Linked DNA regions of Homo sapiens: region 2 is linked to region 1. The links are contacts of gene promoters, found by promoter capture Hi-C in human tissues and cell types (Jung and others, 2019). All regions are on one chromosome and are shown on one strand. The core of a region is centred on a gene start or on the middle of the fragment in contact, and the rest is flanking DNA. Distances in the headings are between cores, read along the strand shown.

What was found. The method cuts DNA at HindIII sites, captures the fragments that hold promoters and counts their contacts. A contact is called where the count stands out against the background at its distance.
Region 2: a contact is called between a fragment that was not itself captured here and the fragment with the promoter of HHEX in region 1, in 1 of the 25 tissues and cell types used here (H1 embryonic stem cells).

What each region holds. Positions count from the first base shown.
Region 1 is chr10:92,685,351-92,692,489 of GRCh38, forward strand. It overlaps HHEX (hematopoietically expressed homeobox), which reads left to right and starts at 4,605. Exons shown (of 4, transcript NM_002729.5): 1 at 4,605-4,997; 2 at 7,018-7,139. The coding sequence starts at 4,637. RefSeq lists silencers at 4,096-4,335, 4,406-4,725, 5,146-5,225, 5,236-5,385 and an enhancer at 5,916-6,723. The HindIII fragment of the contact is 5,410 bases long and covers 1-4,633 here.
Region 2 is chr10:93,032,061-93,039,199 of GRCh38, forward strand. All of the region lies in intron 20 of EXOC6 (exocyst complex component 6), which reads left to right. Among named protein-coding and RNA genes, the nearest start is that of CYP26C1, 25 kb to the right of the region's middle. The HindIII fragment of the contact is 4,334 bases long and covers 2,315-6,648 here.

The sequences.
Region 1 (7,139 bases), core at 3,355-5,854:
GCTTCAGAGTTTCAAAGGACAGTCTGACTCTCTTGTTAGGTGCTAATGCAGCTGACATTTAAGTTTAAAGCAATGCTTATTGGCCATTCTGAAAATCCTAGGGCCCTTAAGAACTATGCTACATCTACTCTGCCTGTGCCCTATAAATAAAATAACAAAGCCTGGATGGCAGCACATCATTTTACTGTGTGGTTTACTGAACACTTTAAGCCTACTGTTGAGATCTACTGCCCAGGAAAAAAATATGCCTTTCAAATTATTACTGATCATTGACAATGCACCTGGTCACCCAAGAGCTATGATGGAGATATACAAAGAGATGAATGTTGTTTTCATGCTTGCTAACACAACATCCATTCTGCAGCCCATGAATCAAAGAGTGATTTTGATTTTCAAATCTTATTATTTAAGAAATATATTTTGTAAGGCTATAGCTGCCATAGATAGTGATTCCTCTGTGGGCAAAGTCAAGTAAAACCCTTCCAGAAAGGATTCACCATTCCAGAGGCCATGATTCATGGGAGGAGGTAAAAATATCATTAACAGAAGTTTGGAAGAAGTTGATTCCAGCCCTCACAGATGACTTTGAGGGGTTCAAGATTTCAGTGGAGAAAGTAATTGCATATGTGCTGGAAACAGCAAGAGAAATAGAAGTGGAGCCTGAAGATGTGACTGAATTGCTGCAATCTCATGATACAACTTGAATGGATGAGGAGTTACTTCTTATGGATGAGCAAAGAAAGTGGTTTTTTGAGATGGAATCTACTTCTGGTGAATATGCTGTGAACATTATTGAAATGACAACAAAGGATTTAGAATATTACATAGCTGGATGTAATGGCTCATGCCTGTAATCCCAACATTTAGGGAGGCAGAGGCAGGAGCATAGCTTGAGCCCGGTAGATCGAGACATGCCTGGGCAATGAATGGAGCGAGACTCCATTCTCTACAAAAAGGAAAAAAGAAAAAAAAAAAAGGACAAAAAAGAGAGACTATTACACAACCATACTTGATAGAGCAGCACAGGGTTTGAGAAAATGAACTCCAATTTTGAAAGTTCTACTGTGGATAAAAATGCTATCAAACATCACCACATGCTACAGAGAAATCTTTTATGAACGGAGGGGTCAACAGATGTGGCAAACTTCATGGTTGTCTTTAAGGAATTGCCACAGCCACCCCAACCTTCTGTGCCTCCCACCCTGATCAGTTAGCACTCATCCACATCAAGGCAACACCCCTCAAAAGCAAAAAGATTATGACTTGCTGAAGGCTCAGATGATTGTCAGCAATTTTTTTTTTTTGAGATGGAGTCTCACTCTATTGCCCAGGCTGGTAGTGTAGTGGCATGATCTCAGCTCACTGCAACCTCTGCCTCCCGGGTTCAAGCACTTTCCAGCTAATTTTTGTATTTTTAGTAGATACAGGGTTTTACCATATTGGCAGGCCGGTCTTCAACTCATGACCTCAAGTGATCCGCCAGCCTTGGCCTCCCAAAGTGCTAGGATTACAGGCATGAGCTACCACTCCCTGCCAATCGTTAGCAATTTTTTAGTAACAAAGTATTTTTAAATTAAGGTATGTACGTTGCTTTTTAAGACATAATGCCATTGCACACTGAATGTAGTAAAGTGTAAAGATAACCTCCTTTACATGCACTGGGAAACCAAATAATTCATGTGACTTGCTTTATTGCTATGTTTATTTATTGAAGTGGTCTAGAACTGAACCTGTGATATATCCCTCTTTATATATACATATATGAACATATACATAGATATGTGTGTATAAATATACATGTAGATGTGTATGCACATATATGTATATACTGAAGTATTTAAAAGTAAGCTGCACATATGACCCATCACTCCTAAAGACTTTAGCTTGCAACTCCCAAGATCGCATTTTCCAAAGTAACCTGCAATACCAATCACATCTAAAAGATTAATAATGTCAACTAACATATACTTCATAGTTTGTCCCCATTATCCCCCCCCCCAATAAAAAGCAATGTCTTTTATAGTTTTTTTTTTTTTTTTTTTTTTGAGACAGAGTCTGGCTCTGTCACCCAGGCTAGAGTGCAGTGGGGCGATCTCGGCTCACTGCAAGCTCCGCCTCCCGGGTTCACGCCATTCTCCTGCCTCAGCCTCCTGAGTAGCTGAGACTACAGGCGCCCACCACCACGCCTGGCTAATTTTTTGTATTTTTAGTAGAGACGGGGTTTCACCGTGTTAGCCAGGATGGTCTCGATCTCCTGACCTCGTGATCCGTCCGCCTCTGCCTCCGAAAGTGCTGGGATTACAGGCGTAAGCCACCGCGCCCGGCTCCTTTATAGTTTTTTAAAATCCAGAATCCAGTTAATTGGGATGATATGAGGCCTTGTGAAAATCCTCATCCTCAACATTTCACGTGTTAGTTGATGATGATTCTTCTTGAATTATTACGTTTTTCGATTGTACCAATTTTTCTACATCTGTTAGCTGACATTCTTCCAGCTTTCACATCCACTGCACCTTTCTCTCTCTGAGTACCACTATGGACTCACGAATTGTTATATTCAAAGTGGTATAATCCCTAATGTATTTTTAAAGCTTAAATCACCCCAAATTTTGCCGATGGAAACCACTCCAAGGTGGTCCCTATTTTCTTTTCACGGTTTCTGACACAAGATGTCTTTGAGCTTACCTTGTACTTTTCTTGCCCTAGATCTAGAATCAGCCACTTCTTCAAGGACTTACTTATACGACGAATAGGTCATACATCCATCTAGTGCAAGTCTCCAGATATTCACAGCTATACATGCCCCCTCCAATCCCACCCCTTTCTTCATAGTCAGCCAATGTTCGTTATCCTTCCAGAGATAGTTTATATCATGGAGTAATATAAAAATTTATGATTTATATGTACTGTATAATAGAGCAATTATATTCTTACCTACCCCCAACATGCTTTAACTCGAATGATAGTGTAGTACACTTCTGAGTTTGTCTGGGCTTGTAGCTCTTGTCTGTCATTAGATTCTGAAAGATACCTATTAACAATACCCTAAAAAGATCAGGAGCCTTTAGGCCAAGTCTCAAACGTTTCAGATGAGAAAAACTCAGGGATGGTGACTTGACGGAAGTTGCATTAACTAACAACGCTCACATGCTATTCTCCGGACTTGGAATGTCCAAGCACCCTGGGCTTGCTGACACCCACTCACTTTTCAAACATCAATTCTTGGGAAGCTTTTCCCTTCCTTAATGTCCCCCAGATAGGTGATGTCCCCTTGTTACAGGTTTTAGACCATTATGTACATCTCCTTCCTAGCACATACATATATTAAAATTTGTTTCCTGTCTCCATGAGGAGAGGGACTACATCTGTCCTTTTCACTGCTGGCACACAGTAGTTGCTCAACAAAAATGTGCGAAGTGAAACTCGAACAGGCGGTCAGGCTCACAGTCCACGCCTCTTCCTACTGTGGTCCCGCTGTGTTTGGACAAATAGTTCCAAATTATAAACTTTAAAACCTGAGAAGTCTCAATAGAAAAAGCAGGGAAGTCTTTCCATTTCCATGATTAATGGAGGACCTTAGCAGAAACGGCTCACCGCGAGGTGTGACGACCGCAGGAGGGCGTCAATCAAGAAAATGCCCCCTTGCCCCGGAGGCGAGTGGAGCCGCACAGAGCCGAGGCCATACGGGCCAGCAGTACGGACTGCTTCAATAGAAAACACGTGCAAAACCAGAGAGCCAGACTGCGCACAGCTGCGACCCTCAAGAGCCAGCAGAAAAGACACGGAGCGGCCCCCACTGGATTGAAGACTGCACAGCCTCTGCCCGGCGCTGTAGGACCCGGGCCTCCCCTTGATTGCTGCTCGCAGCGGCTTCTGCCAGCATCCTCGCGGAAGTGGCTTGAGTCCGAGGCCTCCAAATGAAACCAGGTGGAGCGGCCAAGAGTCCGCAGCACCTGAACTCCAGCCATCCGAATCCCGCCGGGCCGCAGCTAAGGGCCGCCGAGCAGCCCTAGGAACCCAGGGCACTGTCCCGCTCTGAGCTCGGGAAACGGCCGGTGTGACAGCCAGCGCCACTGTTAATCCAGGGAGCGCACCCACCGAGGAGGCGTCTTAGGCCAGCGGCCTCTGCTCCCGCCGAGTCCCGCTGCTCCCCGCCTGGAAACAGCTGCTGCCACCCCGGGCCCAGGCCTGGACGGCGCCCCCGAATTTCGGCAGAGGTGCCTCGGGGCCGCGGACAGGGCCGCTGGAGCCCGCACTCCAGAAGGCGGTCTTCCTCGCGCCTCCCCCGACGGACGCGGCCCAGGGCTTCCCTCGAGGGCGTCCTCGGCCGGGGTGCCTGGAGTCCCCAGGGGCGACAGCCGCGGCGGGGCACCAGGGCGCCAGTTCCCCGGAGCCTGGTAGCAAGCGCGTCCCGGGGGCGGGGAGCTTGGCCGGCGGGGCGGGCCGGGGTGGGGGCGGGCGGCTGCTCTTGGGGCCCCGCGCCATTGGCCGCAGGGCCCGGCGGCAGGAAGGGGCCAGCGAGCGCGGCCCCACCCCGCGGCCGGCGGAGCCTATCGCCGGGAGCGCGGAGCGCGGATAAATGTAGCGCCGCGGCGCGGGCCAGCAGCTCTGCGAGGGGCCGGAGCGCGGCGGAGCCATGCAGTACCCGCACCCCGGGCCGGCGGCGGGCGCCGTGGGGGTGCCGCTGTACGCGCCCACGCCGCTGCTGCAACCCGCACACCCGACGCCCTTTTACATCGAGGACATCCTGGGCCGCGGGCCCGCCGCGCCCACGCCCGCCCCCACGCTGCCGTCCCCCAACTCCTCCTTCACCAGCCTCGTGTCCCCCTACCGGACCCCGGTGTACGAGCCCACGCCGATCCATCCAGCCTTCTCGCACCACTCCGCCGCCGCGCTGGCCGCTGCCTACGGACCCGGCGGCTTCGGGGGCCCTCTGTACCCCTTCCCGCGGACGGTGAACGACTACACGCACGCCCTGCTCCGCCACGACCCCCTGGGTAAGGCGGCCGGGCGAGGGTGGGGGCGAGGAAGCGCCACCCGGCAGGTGGCAGCGCCCGGGAGGCCGAGGGGGCGAAGGGGGCAGGCGGTAGACGGCTGTGGCAAAAGCGATGGAAAAGCAGCTGTCGGGCACGCGCGGGGACGGGAGGCGCGCGGCCGGGGCTGACCGCACCGTGACTCAGATTGGTTTTCCTGCACCTTGCAGGCGTCGGGGCGCGCGGGCCGGCGGTAGACCTCGCGGCGAGGGCAGCCGTGGACCGCGCGTGTTACCCGGGGTGGGGCTCCCTTAGCGGGAGGGACGGGGAAAGGGGCGTCGAGGCGCCCCTGGCCGGCCCCCGTGGGGCAGGGATCGCAGCCGGGCCCGGGTGGCTACGGGGCTGGACCTGGTTCAACAGGCTTGTGCAGTGAAAGAGCCTGACCCTTTCCGTTCATACAGGAAATCTTGAGTTCTCGATAGGAGTAAATCTGGTTTCAGAAGCTGTTAAGTGTTTTCCTGGCTGCATGAAGCAGACCCTTCCCCCGGAGTAGTGCACGCTGCTGATTATTTTATCGACATCCTCAATACAGACAAATTCAGGAAACACTCGACTTCTGATAGCCGGGATCCGTTTTTCTGATATTGTTCATTTCCTCTGTGTGGGATGTGACTTTATGGCAGCTAAAATAACCAGTTGCTTCCTATTTTTTTTCGAGGCTGTTTTGCACCAGTCTGAAGCCTGACGCAAGCAAAATCTCGAAAAAACAATGCTAGCTTTCAAAGCGTTGAGGTGCAGGCCTGCAGACGGACGGACGGACCGACCGACACTACTTTGGGAGTAGGAAGCAGCAGCTCCTGGTCGCCAGTTAGGAAGGGAAGCAGGGACACATAGGGCATATATTCCAGAACTTCGGGGCTTGTCCCCTCAATGTGCGGCCTAACAAATAAGCCGCCCGTGGTCCGCGCTGTGGGTGACCCTTGGCGCCTTCGAGGTCTGGAGCCCTAGGGTAAATAAGGAAACGGGGCGCCTCTAGAGTTTTAAATGAACTCTGTTATTGGAAGCTTCAGTAGGGACCCTGAAAACAATTAACGTCTTAATTAGCATTTTAATGTCTCCATTATTACGGCGCGGGCTCTAGCTCAGCCCTTTACCTTACCTTCTCACCGTTAACAGGGGAGGGGGATTGTATTTTTAGTTCATCTTTTTATGTTTTTGAGTTGTTATCCTGTCTGTCTGATTCCAGCCTCGAGGGTTTGATGATGCGGCCCGAGCCTGGCTGTGGTCGCCTGTCGGGGCTGGAGCGGGACCCTCAGCCGGGCCGGGCCTGGGGGCTAACGTTTTCACAGTGCGCCCTGAGTTTCCTTGGGTTACTGCTGGGACCGCGCAGGAGGAAGCAAAGAGTTTTTCGAGCTAGACCAACAGGAAACACATTGACGGAAATGTTGCCATAGCCCATGGGGTGGCTTTAACTGGCCGCCCCCGCGGGCTGGGTGTGAAATCAGAGGAGGCCGCGGCTCCCCCGGCCAGGATTGGAGGCTCCTCGCGCAACCTAATGCGGGTGTCCGGGCCCGAGCGCTTCCCGCGCAGCCAGGCCTTGTCGGTGCAGCAGCCCCGCTCCTCCCCAACACGCACACACCCGGTGTTCGCAAGTGCGGCTCACCAAGGGAGATCCAAGGGGGCAAAAAGTTATGTATAAATCCGAGAGCCACTGGGGAAAGAGGGTCGTGGTATTGTAAGCCCAGCCGGTAGTGCCCATTCTTTTTGGGGTTAAAGGTATGTCTGGATTTAGTTCTAGGTGTGACGGCTGTGTGTCTGTCTGTGTGTGTACAAGGCTGTGTGCATCTGCGGTGTCAGTGTGTGACTTTGGGTATGTTTGTGTGTCGGTGGGAACGTGTTAGGTCCACGTGCCGGTGGGTGTATGTGAATGTGTCTGGTTGGGTGGCCTCCTGGCCTACCTTTGTCATCCCTGGGGCCCGACAGCTCTGGGGTCTGGCCAGGCCGCTCCAGGGCAGTGGGTGAGCGCCGCTCTTCCCGCTCGCAGGCAAACCTCTACTCTGGAGCCCCTTCTTGCAGAGGCCTCTGCATAAAAGGAAAGGCGGCCAGGTGAGATTCTCCAACGACCAGACCATCGAGCTGGAGAAGAAATTCGAGACGCAGAAATAT
Region 2 (7,139 bases), core at 3,232-5,731, 350 kb after region 1:
TTCTATTGATTTTTTCCCCCCTTAGCCTTCGTCTCCACAGACAGGAATTTGTTGTAACATAGATTGCAGACTGGGTGTGGTGGCTCATGCCTGTAATTCCAGCAGTTTGGGAGGCTGAGGCAAAAAATCAGCCAGGTATTGTGGTGCACACCTGTAGTCCCAGCTAGTCAGGAGGCTGAGTCAGGAGGATTGCTTGAGCCTGGGAGTCAAGGCTGCAGTGAGCTATGATTGCACCACTGCACTCCATCCTGGGCAACAGAGCGAGGGTCACAAAAACAACAGCAAACAACAACGTAGATTGCATTGCACAAAGGTCATTACATGCCTTTACGTCAGGGGTTCCAACTTGAGAACCATGGGTTGGTTTTAGGAGGTTCAAGCAGAATTTTGTATGTGCATTTTTCTGAGAAGAAAGTCTAATGTTTTCATCTCAAAGGCAGCATATGTGACCTAAAAATAGATAGCTACACACCACTACTCCAGCAAAACTGAAAGCTGTCCAGATTAAGCCAGATCACCAAGAGCTGCCGTATTTTCAGATGTTTCTTCATTTACTCGACAAATGTTTGAGCACCTGCTTTGGGCACTGTTTTAAGTGCAGAAGACAGTGGTGAACAAGATAGGCAGGATCCCTCCTCTCACAGTCCCCCTTTGTTGGAGGGAGATCCACAACAAAGAGTGCTAATTTAAATAGTTTTAGATGGAATTTCAAATAGCTTTTAGATGGTATGAGAAAAATAAAACAGGTTAATGTGATAGTGACTGGAGGTGAGGTGGGCCACTTCAGATTTGGTGATCAGGGAAACCCTCTTTAAGGCGGTGGCATTTGAGCACATAACTGAGTGAAATTGGGAAATATAGGGAAATAGCATTCCTGGCAGAGGGAAGAGCAAGAGCAAAGTCCTAAGGTGCTGTTAGGAAAGAGAAAGGGTAATAGTATGGCTATAATGTAGTGTGCAAGAGGAAGAGGGGCAAATGAAATTAGGAGGATTATCAGAGCCAAATCATGTAAGGCCTTGAGGGTTTTGTTAAGGAGTTTGGATCATAGGTATGATGGGAAATCATTCAAGGGTTTCAAGCAGGTTAGTGTCATACTCTGATTTGTATTTTGAGAGTTTATTCTGGCTGTTTTAAGGAGAATAGATTTAAAAGGGACAAAATTAGAATCAGGAAGAGCAATTAGATGATTGTTTTGGTAGTCTAGACTACAGATGATAGAATTGCTGTAGTAACTACTGATGATTGGGTTCACTGTATTTCATAGTAGGTCATAGTAGCTCCCAGCAGACTCAGAGATTTCTGCTTTCAGTATTACAGATAGTTGAATTTACCCTGAGCAACTGGTTTGTTTTTATTTCAAGAGAACTGTGAGTTGTACAATTAATGGTAGTTTATTCTGTATTTTGGAGACAGAAAAACTCAGGAATATAGCATAGCATCACATGTATTTTGTGTACTAACCTCCTCATCTTTCCTACTCTCATTTTCTCGTGGCCCTGGCTTTTCTCAGTTAACTAAGTTAAATTTGTCTTGCATATGTTTTTGTAAATTGCCTTAAAACCCGTTTGGAACAATGCAATATGTAAATAAATTAAGCGTTTGTTAGTGGACTCCTAAAACTGTTCGCAGTAAAAAGCATTAGGTGTGGGTAGATTTTGATTTATTTGCTTGTTTATTTGTCATTTATTTCTTCAATAAAAATGATTGAGTGCCAGGCACTGGGGAAAAAGAAGTGAGTGGTAGAAATTAAATAAGAGCCAGACTATTGGAGAGATAAGTTAGTTGGCAGTAATGAGATAAAGTTGAAGACAAAGACTATTGGATTCTGAAAGACAGCTAAAGGATAAAAAGTTAGGAGTGTAAAAAGAAAGCCACCAAAGTATCTGAATGACTTGTTGACAAGAACACTATTGTGTAGGAAATCAGAGACAGGATGGAGTCCTGCACTTCTTAATAACTACTGCATGACTTTGGAAACTGTTTCCTGAACTATTTCAACTATATATATTAACAATGGTTTAATGAAATCTGTGAGGGAAAATGTTGTAGAGTTTACTTCTGGGAGAGAGCTTTTACCTGGCATGCTTAATCTTGATTGCTAAAGTTAGGAATTATGTGAAGCTTGCAGTAAAGAGGTTATCAGTTGATTGAGTCAGCAGCTACCATCTATTGGTTTTTAACACTTCAACAGGGCAGTGGCATCGCTATGCCAGGTTCATATCATAGGTGAACTATTAAAAGCTGACAGTTTCTTCCACCAGTCTTGCTTGAAAAGGGAAGTACCCTGGGCACCCACCTCCTTGTTCTTAGCCCCTCACCCATTTTCTTTTATCCTTTTATACATGGCCTGATAATCTCTCTCTACCATACCCCCAAATGATTATAAGGTTTAGGAAAGAAGTTCCCATGTACATCACCATAGAAAGATAGGAAAACCCTGATAAACATACACTTGTATTTGACTCAAAATGAACAACTTTGAGTTCTGTCTAAAGGGACATGAACAAGCTTTGAATCTTATGAAGGAATTGTTTGGCCAGAATTCTTGCCATAGAGACTGGACGTCTGCCAGGACTTTACTTTGAAATTTCTGTCTTCTGTTTCTAATCTTAAGGCATCACAACATACAATTCTTTTGCCACTGGTCCAGTTTATTCTTTTATGATGAGGAAGAAGGCACTTTTAAATAACAATTATTTCCACTATAATTAAACAAATCTTCTTTTGTTTGCATTATTTTGTTACTATATTGTATACACACCCTGCCTGCTTAAACTTGCCCCTGTGACTACTTCACAGGAACTTTCTTTAGAAGTTTTAAAGTCGTTGACTTCTTAAAGTATTAATGGGATTTGCCAAAGTTGTAGTATCTGAATGCTTGACTAGATATAGTAGCAGGACAACAAGCTTGTTCACACAGCTCCTCCAGCAAGCATTTTTTCCTCAGACAATCCTAAATTCATTTGAAGTGCCAAAGAATTAAAGGAAGATACATTTGGGTTTACTTCTGAATATAACAAGACCAGACATCTCACAAAGTTTACCTTAAGGTCCAGATATTAGAAAAGTATGCTGCCCTTTTGGGAAAGCTTAGATTTTAAAGGATTAGTCTGAACCTAAATGACTTTTGCGTTTTTCTTCTTTTTGCTCCAGTGTCATAATTCCGGAAGTTTATAGTTTATGTGCTTAAATATGTAGGTGATAGGTGCTTATGCCTTCAGCTATCGATATGAACTTTGAACTCAAATTTTTATGATTATTTTAAGAGTAAACGTTAGAGCTGTTTTGTAGTTTGGAAAATTACCCTGTAAAATGATTTTTCAAAAACCAAAAACAAACACTGTGATAATTACAAAAATTGTTTATGCTCACTGTTTTTAAAAATTTCTTAAAAGTACTATAATTGCACACTCACAAAAAGTTACAAATATAGTTTAGAGAGGTCCCTTGTACACTTCCCCCAGTGCTAACGTTTTACATAGCTATAGTATTTGTCGAAACCAGGAAATTGGGGCCTGTCGTGGTGGCTCACGCCTGTAATCCCAACACTTAGGGAGGTTGAGGTGAGCGGATCACTTGAGGCCAGGAGCTCTAGACCAGCTTGGCCAACATGGCAAAACCCCGTCTCTACTAAAAATACAAAAATTAGACGAGTGCATTGGCATATGCTTGTAATCCCCACTAGTTGGGAGGTTGAGACATGAGAATTGCTTGAACCTGGCCTGCGGAGGTTGCAGTGAGCCAAGATCTTGCCACTGCACTCCAGCCTGGATGACAGATCAAGACTCTGTCTCCAGAAAAACAGAAACGAAAACACAGGAAGTAGATATTGTATGTTCACTGTTAAACTAAAATCAAACCTAAAAAGAAAGCTCTCAGGCCGGGCACGGTGGCTCACACCTGTAATCCCAGCACTTTGGGAGGCCGAGGCGGGCAGATCACCGAAGGTCGGGAGTTCAAGACCAGCCTGACCAACATGGAGAAACCCCATCTCTACTAAAAATACAAAACATTAGGCATGATGGCGCATGCCTGTAATGTCAGCTACTTGGGAGGCAGAGGCAGGAGAATCACTTGAGCCTGGGAGGTGGAGGTTGCAGTGAGCCGAGATCACACCATTGCACTCCAGCCTGGGCAACAAGAGTGAAACTCCATCTCAAAAAAAAAAAAGAAAAAAAAGAGAAAGCTCTTATTTTCCCCTCCTCTTCAGTCTTTCACAGTCATTATTTCCCTCCAGACCTTTGTAGTGTACATTCGAACATGTATACATGCAGATACTTACATGCACACATGTAGTTATTTCCTTTTTGGGGGAGGTATGTTATAATTCACATTTTTCATGCAACATATGCTTTCATATTGGTAAATATGGATGTTTCATTCTTTTTAATTTCTTTGTACTGTCTATAGTGTACATATACCATAATTTATTAAACAAGTCCTCATTTGTTGGACATTATGGATTCTTTAGTTTTGTCTATCTATTAATGAAGCTGCCATTAATATATTTATACATATATATCGAGCACTTGTGTAAGTATTTCTGTAGGCCTTTAGAAGTGGAATTACTGGGTACTGCTGAAAAAGCTCTCCAAAAAAGTATATAAATCAGAATTATTTTTAAAAGAGATACGTAACTTGGCAATATGACAATAAATAAAGCTAACAGATTTATGGAAAAAATTAAGTCATTTAAGTTTGCAGTTGGGCAAATACAGAATATTTCTTATTTACAATATAAGCATTATTGTAATATGATACATTTTAAGGTAAATTTTCAGTGAGTTACACAAGGATTAAATCTTTGTTTCCACAGACTGTGCATAATGTAAAAAGAGACAGTCCCAGATTTACCTGTTTTCAATTATCAATATTCCTGCTCTTTTTTTCACTGAAAGGGATAGGTTAAAATTTTTAGAACAGTTTGTCAACTATGGAGGGTAGTGATATTCTGGCCTTTGATAAATATCATATATGCAGTAAACTAATGATTAACTATTAACATTGGCATTACTCAACAAGGAGCTATATCTTTTCTCTCAAAATTAATTCACATTTTTGCCAAACTTCCTTTCTTCTTCTACTTTTTTTTTTTTTTTTTGGAGACAGGGTTTCTCTGTCGCCCAGGCTGGAGTGCAGTGGTGTGATCATGGCACATTGCAGCCTCAACCTCCCCAGGCTCAGGTGATCCACCTCAGCCTCCGGAGTAGCTGGGACTACAGGTGCATGCCACCACACCCAGCTGATTTTTGTATTTTTTGTAGAGGCAGAGTCTTGCCATGTTGCCCAGATTGTTCTGAAACTCCTGGCCTCAAGCGATCCACCTCAGCCACCCAATGTGCGGGGATTAATAGGGCCACTACATCCAGCCCTATTATTCTCCATTTTTTTTTTTTGAAATGGAGTTTCTCTCTTGTTGCCTAGGCTGGAGCATAGTGGTGTGATCTCAGTTCACTGCAGCCTCTGCCTCTCAGGTTCAAGCGATTCTCCTGCCTCAGCCTCCTGAGTAGCTGGGATTACAGGCACGTGCCACCACACCCAGCTAGTTTTTCTATGTTTAGTAGAGGCAGGGTTTCGCCATTTTGGCCAGGCTGGTCTCAAACTCCTGACATCAGGTGATCCGCCTGCCTTAGCCTCCCAAAGTGCTGGGATTACAGGTGTGAGCCACCGCACCTGGCTATTACTCATTTTTAAGAAATATTTTTCTCGGGCCGGGTGCGGTGGCTCACGCCTGTGATCCCAGCACTTTGGGAGGCCGAGGTGGGCGGATCACGAGGTCCGGAGATCGAGACCACGGTGAAACCCCGTCTCTACTAAAAATACAAAAAAATTAGCCGGGCGCGGTGGCGGGCGCCCGTAATCCCAGCTGCTCGGAAGGTGGAGGCAGGAGAATGGCGTGAACCCGGGAGGCGGAGCTTGCAGTGAGCCGAGATCGCGCCACTGCACTCCAGCCTGGGCTACAGAGCGAGACTCCGTCTCCAAAAAAAAAAAAAAAAAAAAAAAAAATTTTTCTCTAATAAATTTTTTTTGTTGACTGGAAATTTTTTTTTTTGTTACAGGTTTCTTTCAGTTTGGAGGATAGTTATGGGAAGTTTAAATATTTAAATGCTTTGTTAGAAAAACAGTAAATGCACTGTTTGTTTTACATACTAGTGGATATTATAACCACAATTCCTATTTTCAGTTATGATCTTTTTGCTACATAAAATAATATTCCCTAGACAACCTATACTGTATTTGCCATATCAAGTGTGAATCTGACAACAGAGTTCTAAAAAAATCCTACTAAGCATTCTTTTTGAAAGCAGATTGGCTACACATACAAATAAAAAGAAATGTTTGTGTAAATTAAGCCATCCTAGTCTAATTGTTTAAGCAGTTAATTTATAAATTGAAGAAATTATCTTCTAATCCTATTTTACATATAAATTTGAACATGACACGTAATTTCCCTGAAAGTCAACTTCTACTTTTATAGAGAACAGCCAGCACTCTACTTGAATGAGACGTATATATACATGACAGAGTTCTAGACTCAAGCAATATTGATTCAACAATATTGAGCTTTCCAGTGGTTTAAATTAGAAGCTTTTTCATGTATAATCTCTGCTTTTCCTTCATGGCTGTTTTGTCCCAGAAGAGACACAGTTCTTAAACTTTTGCTTCTTAAAGTGTTCTATGAAATATAATTTAGCTCAGTTCAACAAGCTTTGAGTACCCTAAAGGGAGAAGAGCTATTACCTCTACCCTTGAAGAACTCAAAATTTGATTAGAAAGTGAAAACAAACATACAAAGGAAAAGTAAGTATATGTACACACTCCGCACTTTAGGAAGTTATCAATGGCCCATAGAGCCACCTATCTTCTAATTTAGATGGTGCAGAGAACTCAACGCTGCCAACACTTTGCTAGCACTTCAAAGGGATGTATTCTTCCACCTATATATGTATATATATATATACCATCTATTAAAAAAGGCCGGTCATGGTGGCTCATGCCTGTAATCCCAGCACTTTGGGAGACCAAAAGGTCAATAGTGACCTCTTCAGAGCCAAGTGGATAATAGTTGTCATGAAAATTTTTACTAATATACACCAAAAGGCTGATATTGCTGAAGGTATTTTTTTTATTTGAGACTA